Regions from separate parts of the Homo sapiens genome. Here regions 1, 2, 4, 5, 6 and 7 are each linked to region 3. The links are contacts of gene promoters, found by promoter capture Hi-C in human tissues and cell types (Jung and others, 2019). All regions are on one chromosome and are shown on one strand. Each heading gives the region's core, a stretch centred on a gene start or on the middle of the fragment in contact. The rest is flanking DNA. Distances are from core to core; before and after follow the strand shown. Region 1 holds the start of PXMP4 (peroxisomal membrane protein 4). Region 2 has its middle 6.4 kb from the start of E2F1. Region 3 holds the start of MAPRE1 (microtubule associated protein RP/EB family member 1). Region 4 overlaps PLAGL2 (PLAG1 like zinc finger 2). Region 5 overlaps CBFA2T2 (CBFA2/RUNX1 partner transcriptional co-repressor 2). Region 6 holds the start of SNTA1 (syntrophin alpha 1). Region 7 holds the start of C20orf144 (chromosome 20 open reading frame 144).

Region 1 (2,700 bases), core at 53-2,552, 900 kb after region 3:
GCCTCAGCCTCCCATGTAGCCGGGACTACAGGCATGTGACACTACACCCGGCTAATTTTTGTATTTTTGGTAGAAACGGGGTTTTGCCATGTTGGCCAGGCTAGTCTCGAACTCCTGACCTCAGATAATCCGCCTGCCTCGGCCTCCCAAAGTGCTAGGATTACAGGTGTGAGCCACCGTGGCCAGCCTGTGCTAAGCATTTCACACATATTGACTCAATCCTGATAGTATAAGTACTAGTACCATGCCCATTTTACAGATATTGAGGCTTAGAGAGGCTAAATGACTTCCTCCAGATCACACGGGTAGGTGGGGCCAGGGTTCAAGCCAAGGCATCCACATCCTTCCCACCATCCCACGTTGCCACTAGGATGCCAATTCTGGGGGACACAAACCACTTTCTCTGGTTTGTTCTCTGCTTTGTCCCCGGTTCTGGCACTGTAGGCCCTCAATAAATGGTGGCTGTTATGCACTAGGTTTAAAGGAGACTGAGCTCCCCTCTAGGCACCAGCCAGGGCAATGACCCCAAGACCTCTCTTGCAGGTAAGATGCCAGGATAGTTGCAGCTTCTTTTACATTCATTGTCACGTCCCAGGAGCCCCCTGAGCCGAACGGGACTTAGCGCTGGAGTCCTACAGGTGAGAAGTGAGAAGCAGGATGCAAGCCCATGGGCAAGCTTCATGGGGACAGAATAGACAGGAGGCATCCGCCTGCCAGCTAGAGGCCAGAGTCCAGTTCCCCATTGTGCAGATGGGGCCGTTGAGGCCCAAAGGCACACAGAGAGGTGAGGTGAACTGAACCCAAATGAGGGGATACAGAAGCTGGCATGGGAGGAGTCAAAGCAAGAGGGCCAGGCTGCAAAGGTTGGAAGACCCAGAAAATGTGCAGTGGGAGCCCCAGTTCAGAGCTGGGAAGGCGCGCAAGCCAAAATCCAGCTCCCATTGCACAGATGGTGACCTCCGAGACTTAGAGACACACGAGGACTGCTCCAGGGCAAACAGCACCGCGGCATCGGACTTCGAACTCGCGCCTCTGACCCCAGGCAGGACATCCCTCAGCCCCAGCCCGGCCCGACGGCCCCACTCACACAGCCCCGTTCCGGAAGCCCTTAAGCACGGCCAACGCAGCGTGGTAGCGGCGCTTGCGCAGCAGTGCGTTGACGACTACGAGCAGAGCCCTTAGCTGCGGCGGGGCTGCCATAGTGCGGGCTGCGCGCAGGGTCGGGGTTAGGAACTGTAAGCGCACTGACAGCCGGAGGTTCCAGCTGCGCGCCCACAGCCCCTCGGTAGCGCCGCCGACTCGTGGCGTCTATAGGCTGTTTCTGCGTCACTCATGCATGGAAGACCAATCAGAGAGCGTACTTGTCTCATGGGACAATAGCACTCATCGAAATAGTTGTCTGACTGGAAGAGAAAGGAAAGCTTGTAGCCAATCACAGTGGGCTCCGCCCAAGGTCACACACGATTTGTCCAATCAGAAGGCACTTTCCCTTGGGCCATGTTGGGTTCACGAGTGGGTTTGGAAGGAGGCGTGTACTTGGAAGGAGGGCTCCTGAATGAGGAGTGGCCCTGCTTAGAGATGGGATGGGCGACAGGTGATGATACAGGGAGGAGCAGGGCCCCATCTTTATGCGAGATAGTTCTGACTGGGATATCCTTTACCATAGCGATCTTCCCAGAGTGTCAGTCACATGGCCCCTCAATGGCTTCCATGTACGTATGTATGTTTTGAGATGCAGCCTCGCTCTGTCACCCAGGCTGGAGTGCAGTGGCGCGATCTCGGCTCACTGCAACCTCCACCCCCCAGGGTTCAAGCAGTTCTCCTGCCTCAGCCTCCTGAGTAGCTGGGACTACAGGCACCCACCACCATGCCTGGCAAATTTTTTTGTATTTTTAGTAGAGACGGGGTTTCACCATGTTGGCCAGGCTGCTCTCCTGACCTCAGGTGATCCACCTGCCTCGGCCTTCCAAAGTGCTGGGATTACAGGCGTGAACCCAGCCGGCGTCCACTTATTCTTAGAATCCAAACTCCTCCCCAAGGCCCAAGAGAGAAGACCTCCTGTGATCTGGTCCGTGCCTCTCCCTCTGACCCCACGTTCCAGCACTTGCCACCTCACTGCTTCCCAGCCAAACAGCCTCCTTTCTGTTCCTTGGGCCAAGAACCCTTCTACCTCAGGGCCTTTGCACTTGCTGGTTCCCTGCTTGATATTCGCCATCCTGGGCTCTTCCCATGATGGGCTTCTTCTCATCCTTCAGGTTTCAGCTCAAATGCCACTTCATCAGAGAGACTTTCTGAGACATCCAATTTGAAGTAGCACTGTCCACTCTGACTCATTACCCTGGCTCTTTTTTTTTTTTTTTTTTTTTTAGACTGAGTCTCGGATCTATCACCCAGGCTGGAGCGCAGTAGTGTGATCTCAGCTCACTTCAACTTCTGCCTCCCAGGTTCAAGGGATTCTTCTGCCTCAGCCTCCTGAGGAGCTAGGACTACAGGTGCATGCCACCACGCCCGGCTAATTTTTGTATTTTTAGTAAAGACGGGGTTTCACCATATTGGCCAGGCTAGTCCAAACTCCCGACCTTGTGATCCGCCCGCCTCGGCCTCCCAAAGTGCTGGAATTACAAATGTGAGCCATCGTGCCCGGCCACCCTGGTTCTTATGTGTTTTTTTTTTTTATAGAACTTTTGACACTTTAGACTT
Region 2 (2,700 bases), core at 39-2,538, 870 kb after region 3:
GAGGTCAGGAGTTCGAGACCAGCCTGGCCAACATGGTGAAACCCCGTCTCTACTAAAAATACAAAAATTAGCTGGGCGTGGTGGTGGGCACCTGTAATCCCAGCTACACAGGTGGCTGAGGCAGGAGAATTGCTGGAACCTGGGAGGCAGAGGTTGCAGTGAGCCAAGACTACACCATTGCATTCCAGTCTGGGCAACAAGAGTGAAACTCCATCTAAAAACAAACAAACAAACAACAACAACAACAAAAACATGGACATAGAAGAGAGGGAAAAGTGGATATTCGTGGCTGGGTGCGGTGGCTCACGCCTGTAATTCCAGCACTTTGGGAAGCCGAGGTGGGTGGATCACCTGAGGTCAGGAGTTCGAGAGCAGCCTGACCAACATGGTGAAACCCCATCTCTATTAAAAATACAAAAATTAGCTGGGTGTGGTGGCAGGCGACTGTAATCCCAGCAACTTGGGAGGCTGAGGCAGGAGAATCACTTGAACCGGGGAGGTGGAGGTTGTAGTGAGCCAAGATCAAGCCATTGCACTCCAGCCTGGGTGACAGAGTGAGACTCCATCTCAAAAAAAAAAAAAAAAAGGCAGATATTTGTAATCAAACAGCAGACAGGGGGTTTGGTGCCAGCCAGCAGCCTGGCTGTGTGGCCTTGGCCAAGTCCTTCACCATCAGTTGGCCCATATGTTCCGTGGGTTCAGGCCAGAGGGTCTGAGGTCCAAGGTAACTGCATAGGTCTCAGTCGATTCTCAAGTCTCCCCCCAGCCCTGGTCACTCTCTGAGTGCACGCTCTGGGGACCTCCCTTCTCTCCAAGCCTCACCCATGGCAACTTCCTTTCTCTGCGTCACCCAAGCCTCTCAGGAGGGGTCATGCTTTTCCAAGGAGTGGGGCGAAACCGGACATATGACTATGCCTCCTCTGACCAGGGCCACAGCGAAGGTGGGAGTAGGAGGCCTTTACAGTTGAGGGGCTCAGTTTTTTCATCTGTAAAATAGTGATGATAATAATCATAGTGTTTACCTGATGGAGTTGTTAGGACATTGAGTTATTAACATGCCTGGCACATAGGGAGAGCTCAATGAATGTCAGCTGTTGTGAAGAGTGCAGAATGACTCCCTGAAGTGGCTTGCCTACACTCCCCTCTCAATTTTTCCTCTGAAGAAATGCTTCTTGCTGGGCGCAATGGCTCACGCCTGTAATCCCAGCACTTTGGGAGGCCAAGGCGGGTGGATCACCTGAGGTCAGGAGTTCGAGACTAGCCTGGCCAACATGGCGAAACCCCATCTCTACTAAAAGTACAAAAATTAGCCGGGCGTGGTGGCAGACGCCTGTAATCCCAGCTACTCAGGAGGCTGAGGCAGGAGAATCGCTTGAGCCTGGGAGGAGGAGGTTGCAGTGAGCCAAGATCACGCCAATTGCACTCCAGTCTGGGCGACAGAGCAAAATTCTGTCTCATAAAAAAACAAAACAATAAAAAAATTAGCTGGTTGTGGTGGCACACACCTGTAATCCCAGCTACTTGGGAGGCTGAAGCAGGAGAGTTGCTTGAACCCAGCAAGTGGAGATGGCAGTGAGCTGAGATCGCGCCACTGCACTCCAGCCTAGGTGACAGAATGAGACTCTGTCTCAAAAAAAAAAAAAAAAACAGAAAAAAACGAAAAACTTGTTAGGCTGCAGAATAGCAGAATTTTCATGAAGCAATTCCTGCACTGCCTCCCACATTCTATTAGCCACAAGGAGGAAAAAAAAAAAACTATGTTTGGAGGGCAACGAAGCGTGTAAAATGAAATAATACCATATTCCATTGATTCTGACACCTTTTCTTTCATATTTTAACCTCTCTGAAATTGAGGTGCATCCTAGGATCAGTGGAATATCCATTTGTAGTCAGTAACTATTTTTCTTAGGGGCTCAAAACGGCATATCTCATATTGGATGGCATCTTAGAAGTGACAAGCTGTGGTGTACAAAAAGTGCCAGGCTCAGGGCCCGCCACGTCACAGGCCCTCAGGTTGTCCTCATGACCTTCAGCATCCCCAGCACATTCGAGGCTGGTCATGGTGGAGTGATCAGCTTTTCTTTCTTTTTGTCATTTTCTCACTGACACCTGCTGACCTGCATTTGGTCCCCGGCTTGACAGGCACATGGCAAATGCAGTCAGGGAGGCATATGGGGAGGGCTCAGGATGGGAAGAGAAAGACTTTTTATAATATATTAAGATATTCAAAGAGGAGGAGCCAGAGATTCTTTTTTTAAAAAACAAACAAACAAACAAAAAAATCCCCGCTGGAAGCCAGAGTTATATATATGCCACACAGGCCAGGAAACCCAGCAGGCCTCCTGGAGCTGGCAGCAAACCGAAACAGGGGTATTGTGTCCAGGCCACTGGCTGGCTGAGGGACATTGTTAGGGCCTTGCCCTGTCTGGGAAAAGGGGGGTGGCGGGGCAGGGGGAGTGTGTTCCCATGACTCCCTGGGGAGTAACAACAATTGGGCCAGCTGGGAAGCCGGGGATGCCAGGGGCCCAGTGGGCAGGAGGTAGGCCCCCGAGGGGCCATGGAGGGCACTGCGGAGGCTGAGGAGGTGGGGTGCGGGGGAAGGAAGGTCAGGGTCTGTTTCTTAGCTGGGAGGCAAGGCCTAGGAGGGGAAACATGGGCGTCCTTCACTACACCCCTCCCTCACCCCCTCCAAAGCCCTGG
Region 3 (2,700 bases), core at 157-2,656:
CCTCTGCCTCCCAGGTTCAAGTGATTCTCCTGCCTCAGCCTCCCAAGTAGCTGGGATTACAGGCGCCCACCACCATGCCCGGCTAAGTTTTGCATTTTTAGTAGAGATGGGGTTTCGCCATGTTGGACAGGCTGGTTTCCAACTCCTGACCTCAGGTAATTCATCCGCCTTGGCCTCCCAAAGTGTTGGGATTACAGGTGTGAGCCACCACGCCCAGCCCAGTTCCTCCTTCAGCCAAGGCTCTCTTGAGAATGTAAGGGCCAGGTGTGGTGGCTCACGCCTGTAATCCCAGCACTTTGGGAGGCCGATGCGGGTGGATCTCTCGAGCCCAGGAGACCAGCCCAGCCTGGGCAACATGGCAAGACCCCATCTCTTAAAAAAAAAAAAAAAAAAAAGAGGGAGTGGGCAAGAGAGAATGTATGTACAGCCATTGGGAAACAACCCGGAACAGGACTCAGGAGGTCCTTGCTCCTGTGGACTTTACAGGAGACAGACAGTAAAGGCACAAGATGCCTTCTTATGGTACTAAGAAGAAAATATGCCGCATGATATTGCAGATGGGGGGGCGGGGGCGTCACAGAACGTGACTTTTTTTTTTTTTTTTTGAGACAGAGTCTTGCTCTGTCGCCCAGACTGGAGTGCAGTGGTGCAGTCTCGCCTCACTGCCACCTCCGTCTCCTGGGTTCAAGTGATTCTCCTGCCTCAGCTTCCCAAGTAGCTGGAATTACAGGCGCCCACCACCACGCCAGGCTAATTTTTGTATTTTTAGTAGAGATGGGGTTTCACTATGTTGGCCAGGCTGGTCTCAAACTCCTGACCTCAGGTGATCCTCCCACCTGGGCCTCCCAAAGTGCTGGGATTAAAGGCGTGAGCCACTGCACCCGGCCCAGAAAGTTGACTTCTAAGCGTTTCCCCAAAGTGTCTATTAGGTATCTTTATGATTCAATAACCCATTCTTACAGAAATTAATTGTAAGCCTGGGAGCGGTGGCTCACGCCTGTTATCCCAGCGCTTTGGGAGGCTAAGGCGGGAGGATCGCTTGAGGCCAAGAGTTCGAGACCACCCTGGGCAACACAGCGAGACCTCCATACATCTCTAAGCAAAAAAAAAAAAAAATTCATTGTAAAAGCAATTTTCTTTTTGGTTACTGCCATAGGGATTTTGTAACTGAGTCACACCGGGCCGAGGCGGGACCTCATTGGCTGCGACCGACCACGTGCCGCAGTCGCCCCGGCGGTCGGGGCCCCGCCCCTCGGCTACCGTTCTGTGGATCAGGGGCCGAGCTCCGCCCCCGGCGCGCGGCTGAGACCCTCTCTATAAAAGGAGCCGGCGGAGGATGGCGAGCCTTTACGTCGGCGCGTAACGAGGGGGTGCGTGTGAGGTCATCGCGCGGGCGGGCGGGCGGGGTCTGGCGGTTTGAACGAGACGAAGACGGAACCGGAGCCGGTTGCGGGCAGTGGACGCGGTTCTGCCGAGAGCCGGTGAGCCGGCTAGCGGGCCCGGGGGGTGCGGCTGGGGGGGCGGCCGCGTGGGCCAAGGCCGGGCGTGCGCGGGCAGGCCCTACGGGCAGCGCCAGGGCCGTTCCACACGGCGGTGCTGTTCGAGCCGGGTGGGGGAAGGGCGGGGCCGTCACCCGGCGCGCGCGGGCTGGGCCTGGGGGCGCGCGCTGCGCTCTGCTCAGGGGGCGGGGTCTCGGGCCGGAAGTGGGCTGCTGCTACGCGGGGTGGGGGTTTCTGGGCCGCCGCTGAGGTGTGGTCCCTGCGCTGCAGCGACTGGAGGTCCCAGGGTGGTTGGGCCCTGGGAGGGTGTGGGCGAGGTGGGCCGTCCTGGGAGCTCTGGGGACGCACATTGTGGGAGGCCGTGTTGCCTGAGGGCCGAGAGATCGGGTGGTGGAGTCAGACCTGGGTTGGGTTCCGTGCGGTGTGACCTTGGACAGGTGCTTTAACCGCTGTGGATCTCAGCTTCCTCATCTGTAAAACGGGGACAGTAATACTACCCACATTAAACTCTTAGCGCGATGTATGGCAGAAAGTAAGCCAGCTCTTGGACTCCCTCCTTTCTTCAGTGTGTGTTTATTGAATGCCCACTAGGTGTTGGGCACCGTGCTAAACCCTGGCTGTTTTCCCGGGAACAAAGATTTGCTCTCCAGGAATCCACATTATGATGAGCAGGAGGACAGTATAACGGGATGGTATCAACAGTGCTAGTTCAGTCCCTACTTCACAGTTGCCCTCGGATGCTGCAGGGCAGAGCTTGACCTCTGCCCCATTTTGGGGATGAGGATCCTGGGGCCCATTGAGGGAGGTTATGCTAGGCCGGGCATCCGCTTCTCCGATGGCATGTCTCTAACAGTAGTAATGATAATAGCAGCTCTTTGTTAGTTGGGCACTTGTTTTGTGTCAAGCACTGTTAAGTGCTCCATGTGGCTTTGTGTCTTTTAATACTAACACTGTCTTTAAGAGAGATTCTCTTCTTCCTTTTTTTTTTTTTTTTGAGACAGAGTTTTATTCTGTTGCCCAGGCGTGCAGTGGCACCATCGCTCACTGCAACCTCCGCCTCCCGGGTTCAAGCGATTCTCGTGCCTCAGCCTCCCGAGTAGTCGGGATTACAGGCGCGCGCCACCAAGCCCGGCTAATTGTTGTATTTTTTAGTAGAGACGAGGTTTCGCCATGTTGGCCAGGCTGTTGTCGAACTCCTGAC
Region 4 (2,700 bases), core at 77-2,576, 630 kb before region 3:
TCTTGCATCCAAGATGATTAACTGATAGAATTATGCCACTTACCTCAAAGACATGCAAATATGATATTTAACTTAAAAGTACAAAGCTTATAGGTGCTGATGGGAGGGGTTTTTACTGTCTGCCCTACGCTCACCATCATCCTGGATGCTAAAGATGTCTGGAGACTCCAATTCTTCCCAATTCGAGGCTCTCTCCAACCGTTTCCCAATCAGACAGGTTCACAACTCCCAAACACATCATTCAGAAGTTTTTAATAAACAACTTCATTATAAAAACCTTTTTTTGAAAATGTAATTCTGTAAAACATTGAAAAATCTACTTTAACAAAGATATGCCCTGTGCATTTTCTAATGGCACTTATACTTTACAATTAAAAACCTTGTTTTATATAAAGCCAAAAATACTCCAAGAGGTTATTCACTGTGTTTACAAAGTGCTAGAAGATTTCTGTCTTGTACTTTTCTCTTTAAATAATCTGGAGTTACAAAAGAGTGGCTCCAAAGCCTTGACCGCTGGTAGGGAGGGAGAAGCATGAGAAGTGGTGTCTCAGGAGTTCTAGTGCCAAAGGTGGAGAGGTGCAAGTGGGAACAATCAGCTAAGGAAGTCAGCTGACACACAAAGAAATCGGACTGGAATTTTTCCAAACCCCTCTATGGAGGCACTAGGTTATCATGGTGAACACCCTTTTCCCTCGCCATAGACCCTACTCTCCAGAGGTGAAGGTCATGGCCAATTCCTTCCACAGCAGGTTCAGAGTTCCAGGAGAGGCCAGGGTGGGATCCCAGAGGAATCTGGACTTTTCTGGCCAACACCTGCCTAAGGCAAAGTTTCTTATTACATAAATATCCTTGTTAAAAAGCAAAATATTGATCCTGTACAATATAACCTGTTAAAAAAATCGTGCTTACAAACAGCTCCTAGATAAGAGGGCAGGTGGAGAGAGGACGGAGAAAACAGCTACCAAAAAGGGAGGGGGGAGTTTAAAGGACTACTAGGGAAAGTTTTAGGGCAGTGGGAGAATTCCAACTTAGGACAATATCTACGAGCAAAAAAGTAATCACACCTGCTTCCCGGATTTTCAATTAAGAAAATGCCATTTGTAAAAGGTTGGGCGGTGGGCTGGAGGGCGGGGGTTGCAGGGAACCTCATTGGCGCTCCTTTCCCTGCCTCCCACCTCAAGATGATGCAGAGATCCTTTGAGCTGACACCTGGGCATGTCATCCCCTTACCCCCAGGACTGTACTCAGCCCTGACCAGCTACTGTGTAGGGTGGGAGGGGGACAGCTCATTGCTGGCAGAGGCTGGAGGTGGCAGGGAAAGGGGACATCACTTTTTTTCCTGGTCCCTCATTGGTCTTTGTCATATGCCATGGCTCCTGTCCTGGGCAGATGCCCCTCAGGTTCTCATGGCCTCAGTAAGCATACTGAAGTGAGTTCGGGTACTGAGTGCAGGATAAAGCTATTCTTATCCTTTGAACAACCAGGCCACTAAGGCTTTTTTTTTCTTTCCCCCCGACCCCCCAGATTTTAGGAAGGGAGGTTTAAGAAATGACTGGCTAGCTATGGTCCAAAAAAAAAAAGGTGAAGGCAGATATTATTCCTCTGTACCAGCAAAGTTCACAGTGATAGGAAAATTCCTTGTGGGTGCTGAGGACACTGAGAGGAGGAAAGGAAAGACAGGATAGATGGGAGGACACAGGAGTGGGGAAGGCAAGGAGAAAAGACAGGAGGTGGGGGCAAGGCCCCGGTTACAAAGGGTTTAAACAGTTGCTTTGCCAGTCCTATGACTTTTCCAGCATCACTTACGGGGAGAGAGAATTCGAGGGAGGGACAGGAAAGGGCAGGCAGAGAGGAAAGGACTCCTCTAACAGCCCGGGACTTTGTATTCTGCAGCCAGAGGCCCAGTGGCCTCTGTAAACTGAGAGTGTAGGGAAGGTGGCAGTTAAGGTGAGAAGGGTTGCTGAGTCTAGTGATGAAAACCAGATACAACAAAGAGGATGGCAACAGCGAGTCCCAACTGGATTCTCACATACCATCACCTATAATACAAGTCCCAATAACATGCACAGCATGCAGGAGGTGGCTGCGTACCAAGGTAGACACTTTTTAAAATAAACCTTAATTAGTCCCTGGGACTCACTGAAACTAATTTTTAGAAGCAAATCATCTAGTCTGATTCTAACCTTGCCAGACATTTTAATATCTGGTGTTTTTAAAAAGGTATCCCAAGCTACCCTGCCTAAATCAAAACACACTTACTCCAAATTGCTTCTAATCAAGAGCTAGGGAGCTAAATTTTAAGGCTTTTACCTCAAACAAGGAGTACTGGCTTAGGCTGAAGCAGAAAGCTGAGTCCTGGACCTGCTCAGTTCCTGATGACAAACCAAGTGAACCTAGACAGAAGGTGGGTGAGGGAGGACTGGTAGGAGGCTGAGGCAATTCCTTGGTAGTTTGTCCTGAAACCCTACTGGAGAAGTCAGCATGAGGCACCTACTGAGAGAAGTGCCCAGAAACTGCTGACTGCATCTGTTAAGAGTTAACAGTAAAGAGGTAGAAGTGTGTTTCTGAATCAGAGTGGAAGCGTCTCAAGGGTCCCACAGTGGAGGTCCCTGAGCTACCTCCCTTCCGTGAGTGGGAAGAGTGAAGCCCATGAAGAACTGAGATGAAGCAAGGATGGGGTTCCTGGGCTCCAGGCAAGGG
Region 5 (2,700 bases), core at 119-2,618, 740 kb after region 3:
AAGCACCAGTGTTTATTTTTCTTACTTTTTTCTTTTTTTTTTTTTTTTTCAGACAGTGTTGCTCTGTCACCCAAGCTGGAGTGCAGAGGCATGATCTCAGCTCACTGCAGCCTTCGCCTCCTGGGTTCAAGTGATTCTCCTGCCTCAGTCTCCTGAGTGGGATTACAGGCTTGTGCCACCTGGCCCAGCTAGGTTTTGTATTTTTAGTAGAGACGGGGTTTCACCATGTTGACCAGGCTGTTCTCGAACTCCTGACCTCAAGTGATCTGCCCACCTCAGCCTCCTAAATTGCTGGGGTTACAGGGGTGAGCCACTGCGCCCGGCCTATTTTTCTTTTTTCTTTTCTTTTCTTTTCTTTCCTTTTCCTTTTTCTTTTCTTTTTTTTTTTTTTTTTTTTTTTGAGATGGAGTTTCGCTTTTGTTGTCCAGGTTGGAGTGCAGTGGAGTGATCTCAGCCTCCCAAATTGCTGGGGTTACAGGTGTGAGCCACTGCGCCTGGCTGTTTTTCTTTTTTAACGTTGTTTGAAAGTCTAGAATCATTTTTATGTGCTAGATGAGAGATTTGATCTGATAAATCAAACTCAGATGTCTGCATCTCAAGTGTATTTGTAGAATTATTTTTCTGTTTTCTATTAATTTAGATTGAATGTCAGAGTACCCATTATAGGTATTAAAATGAATATTACATAAGAAAAAATAACAACTTAAAAATGTTCAGAATTGTTTAAATAAAAACTTTAGACAGACATTTAGCAGAATTTAGGTGAGCATTAAAGGATTCAGGCAGCATTCAAAACTGGAAGAAGTTCAGAGAGCTCTGCTTTAGAAGCAGGCTTTTATAGGCTGAACGCTGTAGCAAAGTAAAGGAATTACTTGATTGGCTGTAGCTAGGCACTTGCCTTATTTGGATATGATCCAGTGGAAAGTCCCTAGTTAGAGGTTTGTTTTTGATTGGTTAAGCTTAAGTTTCATTTTATGTTTACATTGGGCTTCAGTTTGCTTACTAGGCACTGGAGCCAGCTGTCTCAGCCTAATGGCTGCCCAATTTAAAAAAAAAAAAACATTAAAATGGCATGTAGTTGTCATCATCAGAGTAAGAAACCAAAGAAGAGACCGTCATGAATGGGATCATTAGATCATGGACTGACACACATGTTCACTTAATACCCACAAGAGTGTCTTCACACTTTTTTGTCATGGATGGGACTTGTTTTCTGTTTTTTGTTTTGTTTTGTTTTTGATACAGTAAAATACTTAGGAGTTCTTGCAACTTTCTATAAGTTGTTTACATTTTACTCCAATTGCTTTATCATTGTGTGTATTTTGGAGGTACAGTTTTTTTCCTGAACCACTCTGAAAGTGGAAATATGCCCTTTTATCCCTAAATACTTAAATGCATATTTCCTGAAATCAAAGGCATTTTCTTACATAACCACACATAACCACAGTACAATTATCAAAATCAGAAAATGTAATAATGATACCATACTATTAACCTGATTCACAGACTATATTCAGGTTTTATAAATTATTTCAATAATGTCTTTTATAGCTCTTATACCTCAATCCAATTCAGTCTGTCATCACACACTGAATTTAACTGGCATGTCTCTTTCTTCCTTGCCTTTCCCCTTTCCTCTTTCCTTTTTTCTTCTTTCTTAGAGACAGGGTCTCATTCTGGTGCCCAGGCTAGGGTGCAGTGGTGCAATAATGGCTCACTGCAGCCTTGACCTCCTGGACTCAGGCAATCCCCCAACCTCAGCCTCCTGAATACTTGGGAATATAGGCACATGCCATTATGCCTGGCTAATTTTTTTTACTTTTTGTAGAGATGGAGTCTCACTACGTTGCTCCGGCTGGTCTCGAACTCCTTACCTTAAGTAAGCCACCTTCCTTGGCCTCCCAAAGTTTTGGGATTACAAATGTGAGCCACTGCGGCTCTTTAATTTTTCTTATTCTAAAACAGTTCTTCAGCCTGCCTGCCTCCTCTTCTCCCCTCCTGGTACTTTTCTTTTCTTGACCATTCCAATTTTGAATACAGACCAGTTGTTCTGTACTTAGTTTGGGTTTCGTTGCCGTTACCTTATGATTACATTAATGTTACGAATTTCAGGCTGGAATACTATAGAAGGGATGTATTCTCCTTAATGCCTCATTTAAGGAGGCACATAATCAGTGTGTCTCAATATTAGTGATTGGTTAATCATTGTATTAAGGTCATGTCTGCCAGGTTACTCCACTGCAAAAATTACTATCCTCTTTGTGATTAATAAGTAATTTGTTGGGTATATTTAGAGATGATGAAGTTGTCCTGTTTTTCATTAGTTTTCTATTCACTAGTAGTCTCAGCATCTAGTGGTGATTTTCTTTTTTCTAATTTTTAATTTTTTTTTGTAGAGACAAGGTCTCACTATGTTGCCCAAGCAGATTTTGAACTCCTGGCCTAAAGTGATTGTTCCACCTTGACCTCCCAGAGTGCTGACATTATAAGCATGAGCAGCTGCACCCTACTAGTGGTAATTTTCTAATTCCATCATTGTTTCTGCATTTACATATTGGCATTCTAATGAAGGAATGCTTTCCTTTCTTCCTTGTTGATTGGTTAAAAAAATTAAATATGGATTATGCTCTAATCCATTACTATCATTATTTATTTTGATGCTTAAATTGTTGCACAATTCCAGTGGTAGTCCCTTCTAAC
Region 6 (2,795 bases), core at 94-2,593, 620 kb after region 3:
GGGGGTGTGCAAGGATTTTAACAACTATGTTTAGTTGCTTTGGGAGTATCTGCTGGCCTCCATTTTTCCTCTCCGCTAACAGCAGTAATTAACTAGGCACCTACAGTGTGCTGGTGTGGTGAGCCCTGCTCTCAGAAACATCACAACTCTGTCATCCTCTTATACAGTTGAGGAAACAGATTCAGAGGCGGGACGGGACTTTTGCAACCTCACACAGCTGATCCTGGATTCAAACACAGTCTGGTTGCACCCTAACTGCACCCCACTAGCGGTCAGTCCTGGGGGCTGAAAGCTCTATCCTGTGCAAGGTGGAGATAGTCAGATCAGGAGACCCAAATCCAGCTGTCAGGGCTCCCTGCAGCCTTCCTGGGTCCTTAGATTCCTAGGTCCTTGCTGGCCTTCTGCCTGTGACCCCAGCCTGTGCCTGCACCCAGGCCTCCTATCCACCCCTGTGCTTCCCAGACTCCAGGCTTCCCCTCTGCACCCACCTTGGTTGCTTCTCAGGGACTCCCTCCTCCCTGTCCCACTGGTGTCCCGGCCTCAACCCCCTTTCTCCACACTCTGCTTTCCGGGGGACCCCTCTTGTCCTTGATGTTCATGCTGGTTACCCCTCAGACCCCCCCGCCTCCACACAGAACTCCCACCCACGTGTCCTTGGTGCTCCCACAATCTTATCCACACCTGTGTCTTCCGTGCCCCCTAAGGCCACCAACTACTGAAACCCCCTCCAACCTTGGTGTGCCCAGTGCCCTCCGTTACCTGTTTCCTCAGACCCCCCTTACCCCCAGACAGGAAGCCTCCAGCTCCATGTCCTGGGCGCGCTGCCAGCCCCCTGCGCCCTCGGCTGCCCCCAGACACCACGACCCCGCGCCCTCGGTGTCCCGCGCCCACCTTTGATGCTGATGCCCAGCCCACCGGCGTCGGCCTTGCGCACCGTCACGCGGCGCCGCTGGAGCAGTAGCGCCTCTGGCAGCTGCGGGGGCCCGGCGCCCGGCTCCGCGGCGCCGTTGAGCTGCGCGGGCTCCTGCTCCCGCGGAGCGCCGGGCTCGGGACCAGGGTCGCCGTCGGCGGGGCTCACGGTCAGCACGTCCTCCGCCAGACTCAGCAGCACCCGCTGCCATCGCTCGCCGCCGGCCCCCGAGCCCGCCCCGGCGCGCAGCTCCAGCAGCCCGGTGCGCGGGGCGCGCCTGCCGGACGCCATCTTCGCCTCCGAGCCCCCGGGCCGCCGCGCTCGCCCTGTCCCGCTTTGCCCAGCCCGCTCCGACCAAGCGCCCAGGGCAGAGGGCAGCGGGGGCCCGGCTGGGCCAGCCGCCACCCTACCCCGGCCGCTGGGGGAGGAGCTCTGGGGGCGGGGCTACCCTGGGGTGTGGCCAGTGCTGGGGAGGGGGCCTCGGGCAAATGCAGGAGGCCGGGGCGGGGCCCGGGAGCCGAGGGCCGCCGTGTGGGACTACCTAGCGGGGTGGGTCAGAAGGGCGGCGGGGCGGGCCACTAAGTAAGGCGAAAGCCCGGGAGGCGTGGTGCTGGGCGGGGCGTCAGGGGGCGGGGCTTCGCGTCGGGGGCGGAACCCAGTGAGCCCGCGCAGGGGGCTCGGCGCTCGGAATGCCCATCGAGGGCCGGGACTGTAACTCCCGGACGTGGGAGCGCATGAAAAAGAGACAGAACCACGTATCCTGGTGCGAAGCACTGGGCATCGGGCTGGGCTGCATATGGCGGAGGGCTGGGCTGCGTATGGTAGAGCGTTGGACTCCAAGGCTTGAGTTTAAGAGGTAGACACCGTCTGGGCGTGGAGGCTCACGCCTGTAATCCCAACACTTTGGGAGGCCTAGATGACAGCCCAGAAGCTCGAGGCTGCAGTAAGCCGCGATCGCGCCACTGCACTCCAGCCTGGGTGACAGAGCGAAACCCTGTGTCAAAAAAAAAAAAAAAAAAAAAAGGTAGATGCTGAGCCGCGAGAGACCTTGCGGGCACAGTTGCTAGTTGGGGAGCTGAGGAAGAAGTTGGTTTCCTATCGGGGAGGGCGGGGGATGGGGGGTGGGGGTCGAGGCTTTGGTCTGTGGGCGTGGCTTATCGCTGGCGTGGCTTCTAAAGATGACAGGCCCCGCCCCCTGGAGGAGACCGCTACCGACACCGCTTAGGGCTTGGGGGAGGTGTGGGCAGGATCCCCACTTCAAAACTGGAGGGAAGTTTAAGAGATTAACCCCTGGCTGTGTTCACAGTCGAGTATAGAAAAGCCTGAAGTCCCACACTTTGAGGCCTGGCAGAAAAAAAACAGAACTGGTGTGTGGGAAGAGGGTTGCAAGGTGGGGCTCTGGGTCTGGGCGACTGGAGACATGGTTTCTAATCTTTGCTGCCTCTGTTAGCTCCAAGTCGACTTTGGTCCCCTCACGTCACTGCTCTAGGCCTCAATTTCCTCATCTGTAAAATGTGGATCATAATAATACCTACTTCACTGGGCTGGTGTGAGGATTAAATCAATGTGAAAACACGTGGTAAACTGTGACTCCCTATTCTATAGAAATAATCACTTTCATTTAGTGAATGCTTACTCTTACCTAGGGCTGGCAGAATATTTTCCAAGTGTTATCTTTACATTAGCCTCCTGGAGTAGCTAAGAGCACCCCCAGCTGGGCACAGTGGCTCACACCTGTAATCACAGCTGAGGTGGCAGGATCGCTTGAGCCTTGGAGGTCCAGGCTGCAGTGAGCTGTGATTGCACCATCACACTCCAGCCTTGGTGACAGAGCAAGAAAAAAGAGCACCCCTATTATACAGAAGGGAAAACTTGGATTTAGTCT
Region 7 (2,700 bases), core at 201-2,700, 840 kb after region 3:
GAGCTGCTGATAAAAGACAATCAGGTTGCCATTCTCACTCAGACACACACGCCGGCACTGACCCCAACCGACACTGCCAGCCTCCTCCCAGCCCCTCTCAGGGTGGCAGAGAGGCAGGGAGGCTGCCCAAATGCTAGGCCCTGCATGGCCCAGCATGGGATTCTGAGGCTCCTCAACAACCGTCAGTTCCTGGAGCTTCCATTTCCTCATCTATCAAACAGGAAAGATGAAACTCAGCACATGGAGCTGCAAGAACGTCCCAGGAGTTAATTCCTGCATAGGACTCAGCCCAGGGTCTGGCACGTAAGCTCTCGATGCCAGACCTACCAGCCATCTATCGTCAAGTGTAATACAATAAAGGGCCTGCCCACTTGTACACCCAGGAGTCACAGATGTCCTGAGAATTGCCTAACCCCTACCACACACACACACACGCATCAGGGTGGGAGTCCTGGGGAGCTGCAGTCCAGGTGCCTGCCCTCTCCGAGGAGACTCCAGAAGCCCCATCCATCAGAGACTTCATCTCCTGCCATGACCTGCCTCAGCTCAGCCATCGGATGGGACCTCCTGGGCCAGGCTTATGAGCTAGGAGACAGGGACAGAGAAGAGGCTGGGTCTTTTCATTCTCAGACAGGCCAGGGTTTCTATCTCCATGAAATCTTCCCAAAAAATTCCTTTTTGGGTATTTGAGATGATTAGTTTCTGTTGCTTTCAACCAGAGAACAGACAGAAGCACCCACTCAGAGCCAAGCACTACTGCAAGAAGAATTTCATTTAGTCTTTTGTTTTTCTGAGACAGAGTCTCACTGTATCACCCAGGCTGGAGTGAAGCGGCATGATCTTGGCTCACCGCAACCTCTGCCTCCCAGCTTCAAGCAATTCTCCTGCCTCAGCCTCTTGAATAGCTAGGTTTACAGGCCTGTGCCACCACACCTGGCTAATGTTTGTATTTTTAGTAGAGACGGGGTTTCACTATGTTGCCCAGGCTGGACTCGAACTCCTGACCTCAGGTGATCCACCCGCCTCGGCCTCCCAAAGTACTGAGACTACAGGCATTAGCCACCATGCCAGGCCTCATTTAACCTTTGTAACAATTTACAGGAACCATAATTGACCCCATTTTGCAGATGAGAAAACAGGTCCAGAGAGGTTGATTACCTGGGCTAAGGTCACATAGCAAGTTAGTAGCAGGGCCAAAATTCATACCCAAACCACAGAAATCCCCCTCTATTCACCACTAAGCACCTTACATGCATTGCCTCATTTATGATCATTAGCCCAGTTTTACAGCTGAGAAACCAAGGCTAGAAGTGACTGAGTGGAGCCCAGATTCACCTGTGGGCCCTGGAAGGCGGTGCTCAGAGCCTGCAATTGGTGAGGTCAGCCCGTGAGGTCACAATGTTGCCAGGGCCCAGGGGGCAGAGCAGACGGAGTGTGGGCCATCGTCCCCAGTGGTGACCAGCCCTGCCATGGGAAACTATAGTTCCCACAAAAGGACCAAAGCACCCAAGCAGGCCCGCAAGGAGAGGCCGGCTGACATGGACAAGGCCTGGTGGAAATCGTTCCTCAACCACCTCACTCGGAAGAAGCCGGCTGTGAGGGCGGGGGATGGGGAGCAGGGCTGGGGAGGCAGCTGGGGGGCAGAGAAAGCTGGACAAGTGGGTGGGAAGGGATGCTGGGAGTCTAGGCCTTGTATGCAGAAGTCCTAGGGGGTGAGGGAGGAATTCGAAAATCTCTCCCAAGGATGAGGATCCCAGGAGCCCATATGGGTGTGGATGGGGGTCCTTTCAAGGTGGCTCACGCCTGTAATCCCAACACGTTGGTAGGCCAAGGTGGGTGGATAACTTCAGCCCAGGAGTTTGAGATTGGCCTGGGCAACATAGGGAGGCCCCATCTCTACAAAAATTAAAACTTAGCTGGTTGTGGTGGTGAATGCCCGCAGTCCCAGCTACTCAGAAGACTGAGGTGGACTACGTGAGCCCAGGAGGTCAGGGATGCAGTGAGCCGTTGACAGCACCACTGCTCCAGCCTGTAGGACACAGCAAGACCCTGTTTGACTCAGTCTTAAACAAAAAAAGCCCAGAAGGGAGGGCAGAGATTCCAGAACCAGAAAGTGGATGAGACTTGAGAGCCCCGGGGGGTGAGCATGAGTGGGATTCTCTCCCAACCCTGGACGAACGGGTGGAGATCCCAACACGGAGAATCAGTTCTAGTTGGTACTACTGGAGCTAGAGGCAGGGGGAATTCCCTAGTGTCCTCTCTTCAGCTCCTAGGCTCAGAACTTCCCTGTCTCCCTCTCAAATGAGCAGAAGCCCTGGACCAGGCGGGGGTGGGAGGTGCTGAAAGCCCCTGACATAGGGCCTGGAAGGGATCTCATAAACTTAGACGGAGCTGGTCTCAGGAAGTCAGCCTGGGATGGATGAGGGTTTCCAGAAAGGAGGCGGAGTCCGGGGCGCCACGCAGGGAAGGGCGGGCTTCCCCGCGGCCTGAATTGGACAGGGGTCCCCTCCAGCCCTGTGCACGAGAGGATGACAGGACCCGGGTGGACGACAGGACCCGGGTGGACGAGGGTCCCAGGAGAAGCGCGGAGCGGCCCCGGGTCGTGGGCTCGGCCCTAGCGCGCTCTCCCGCCTCACGCCCCTGTTCCACCCCCAGACCAGGATCGTGCTGATTCTCCCCCTGGACAAGCGGCAGCCGCTG

The links. Contacts are between HindIII fragments. The study calls those that stand out against the background at their distance.
Region 1: the fragment with the promoter of PXMP4 here is called in contact with the fragment with the promoter of MAPRE1 in region 3 in 1 of the 25 tissues and cell types used here (dorsolateral prefrontal cortex).
Region 2: a contact is called between a fragment that was not itself captured here and the fragment with the promoter of MAPRE1 in region 3, in 1 of the 25 tissues and cell types used here (hippocampus).
Region 4: a fragment that was not itself captured here is called in contact with the fragment with the promoter of MAPRE1 in region 3 in 1 of the 25 tissues and cell types used here (aorta).
Region 5: a contact is called between a fragment that was not itself captured here and the fragment with the promoter of MAPRE1 in region 3, in 2 of the 25 tissues and cell types used here (aorta and bladder).
Region 6: the fragment with the promoter of SNTA1 here is called in contact with the fragment with the promoter of MAPRE1 in region 3 in 1 of the 25 tissues and cell types used here (hippocampus).
Region 7: the fragment with the promoter of C20orf144 here is called in contact with the fragment with the promoter of MAPRE1 in region 3 in 1 of the 25 tissues and cell types used here (dorsolateral prefrontal cortex).

What each region holds. Positions count from the first base shown.
Region 1 is chr20:33,719,008-33,721,707 of GRCh38, forward strand. It overlaps PXMP4 (peroxisomal membrane protein 4), which reads right to left and starts at 1,303. Exons shown (of 4, transcript NM_007238.5): 1 at 1,088-1,303. The coding sequence starts at 1,200. RefSeq lists an enhancer at 850-899. The HindIII fragment of the contact is 6,661 bases long and covers 1,049-2,700 here.
Region 2 is chr20:33,691,455-33,694,154 of GRCh38, forward strand. No RefSeq gene overlaps it. Among named protein-coding and RNA genes, the nearest start is that of E2F1, 6.4 kb to the left of the region's middle. The HindIII fragment of the contact is 8,188 bases long and covers 1-2,700 here.
Region 3 is chr20:32,818,548-32,821,247 of GRCh38, forward strand. MAPRE1 (microtubule associated protein RP/EB family member 1) reads left to right here and starts at 1,407. Exons shown (of 7, transcript NM_012325.3): 1 at 1,407-1,481. RefSeq lists a silencer at 1,124-1,713 and enhancers at 1,786-2,455, 2,456-2,700. The HindIII fragment of the contact is 10,810 bases long and covers 1-2,700 here.
Region 4 is chr20:32,192,273-32,194,972 of GRCh38, forward strand. It overlaps PLAGL2 (PLAG1 like zinc finger 2), which reads right to left. Exons shown (of 3, transcript NM_002657.3): 3 at 232-2,700. Among named protein-coding and RNA genes, the nearest start is that of PLAGL2, 14 kb to the right of the region's middle. The HindIII fragment of the contact is 8,636 bases long and covers 1-2,700 here.
Region 5 is chr20:33,554,224-33,556,923 of GRCh38, forward strand. The region is part of intron 1 of CBFA2T2 (CBFA2/RUNX1 partner transcriptional co-repressor 2); the gene reads left to right. Among named protein-coding and RNA genes, the nearest start is that of CBFA2T2, 65 kb to the left of the region's middle. RefSeq lists an enhancer at 957-1,116. The HindIII fragment of the contact is 6,731 bases long and covers 1-2,700 here.
Region 6 is chr20:33,442,420-33,445,214 of GRCh38, forward strand. It overlaps SNTA1 (syntrophin alpha 1), which reads right to left and starts at 1,344. Exons shown (of 8, transcript NM_003098.3): 1 at 892-1,344. The coding sequence starts at 1,201. RefSeq lists silencers at 890-949, 1,060-1,539 and enhancers at 1,770-1,839, 1,818-2,318, 2,290-2,349. The HindIII fragment of the contact is 21,074 bases long and covers 1-2,795 here.
Region 7 is chr20:33,660,877-33,663,576 of GRCh38, forward strand. It overlaps C20orf144 (chromosome 20 open reading frame 144), which reads left to right and starts at 1,451. Exons shown (of 2, transcript NM_080825.4): 1 at 1,451-1,595; 2 at 2,656-2,700. The coding sequence starts at 1,470. All of the region lies in intron 5 of NECAB3 (N-terminal EF-hand calcium binding protein 3), which reads right to left. RefSeq lists an enhancer at 2,034-2,700. The HindIII fragment of the contact is 51,797 bases long and covers 1-2,700 here.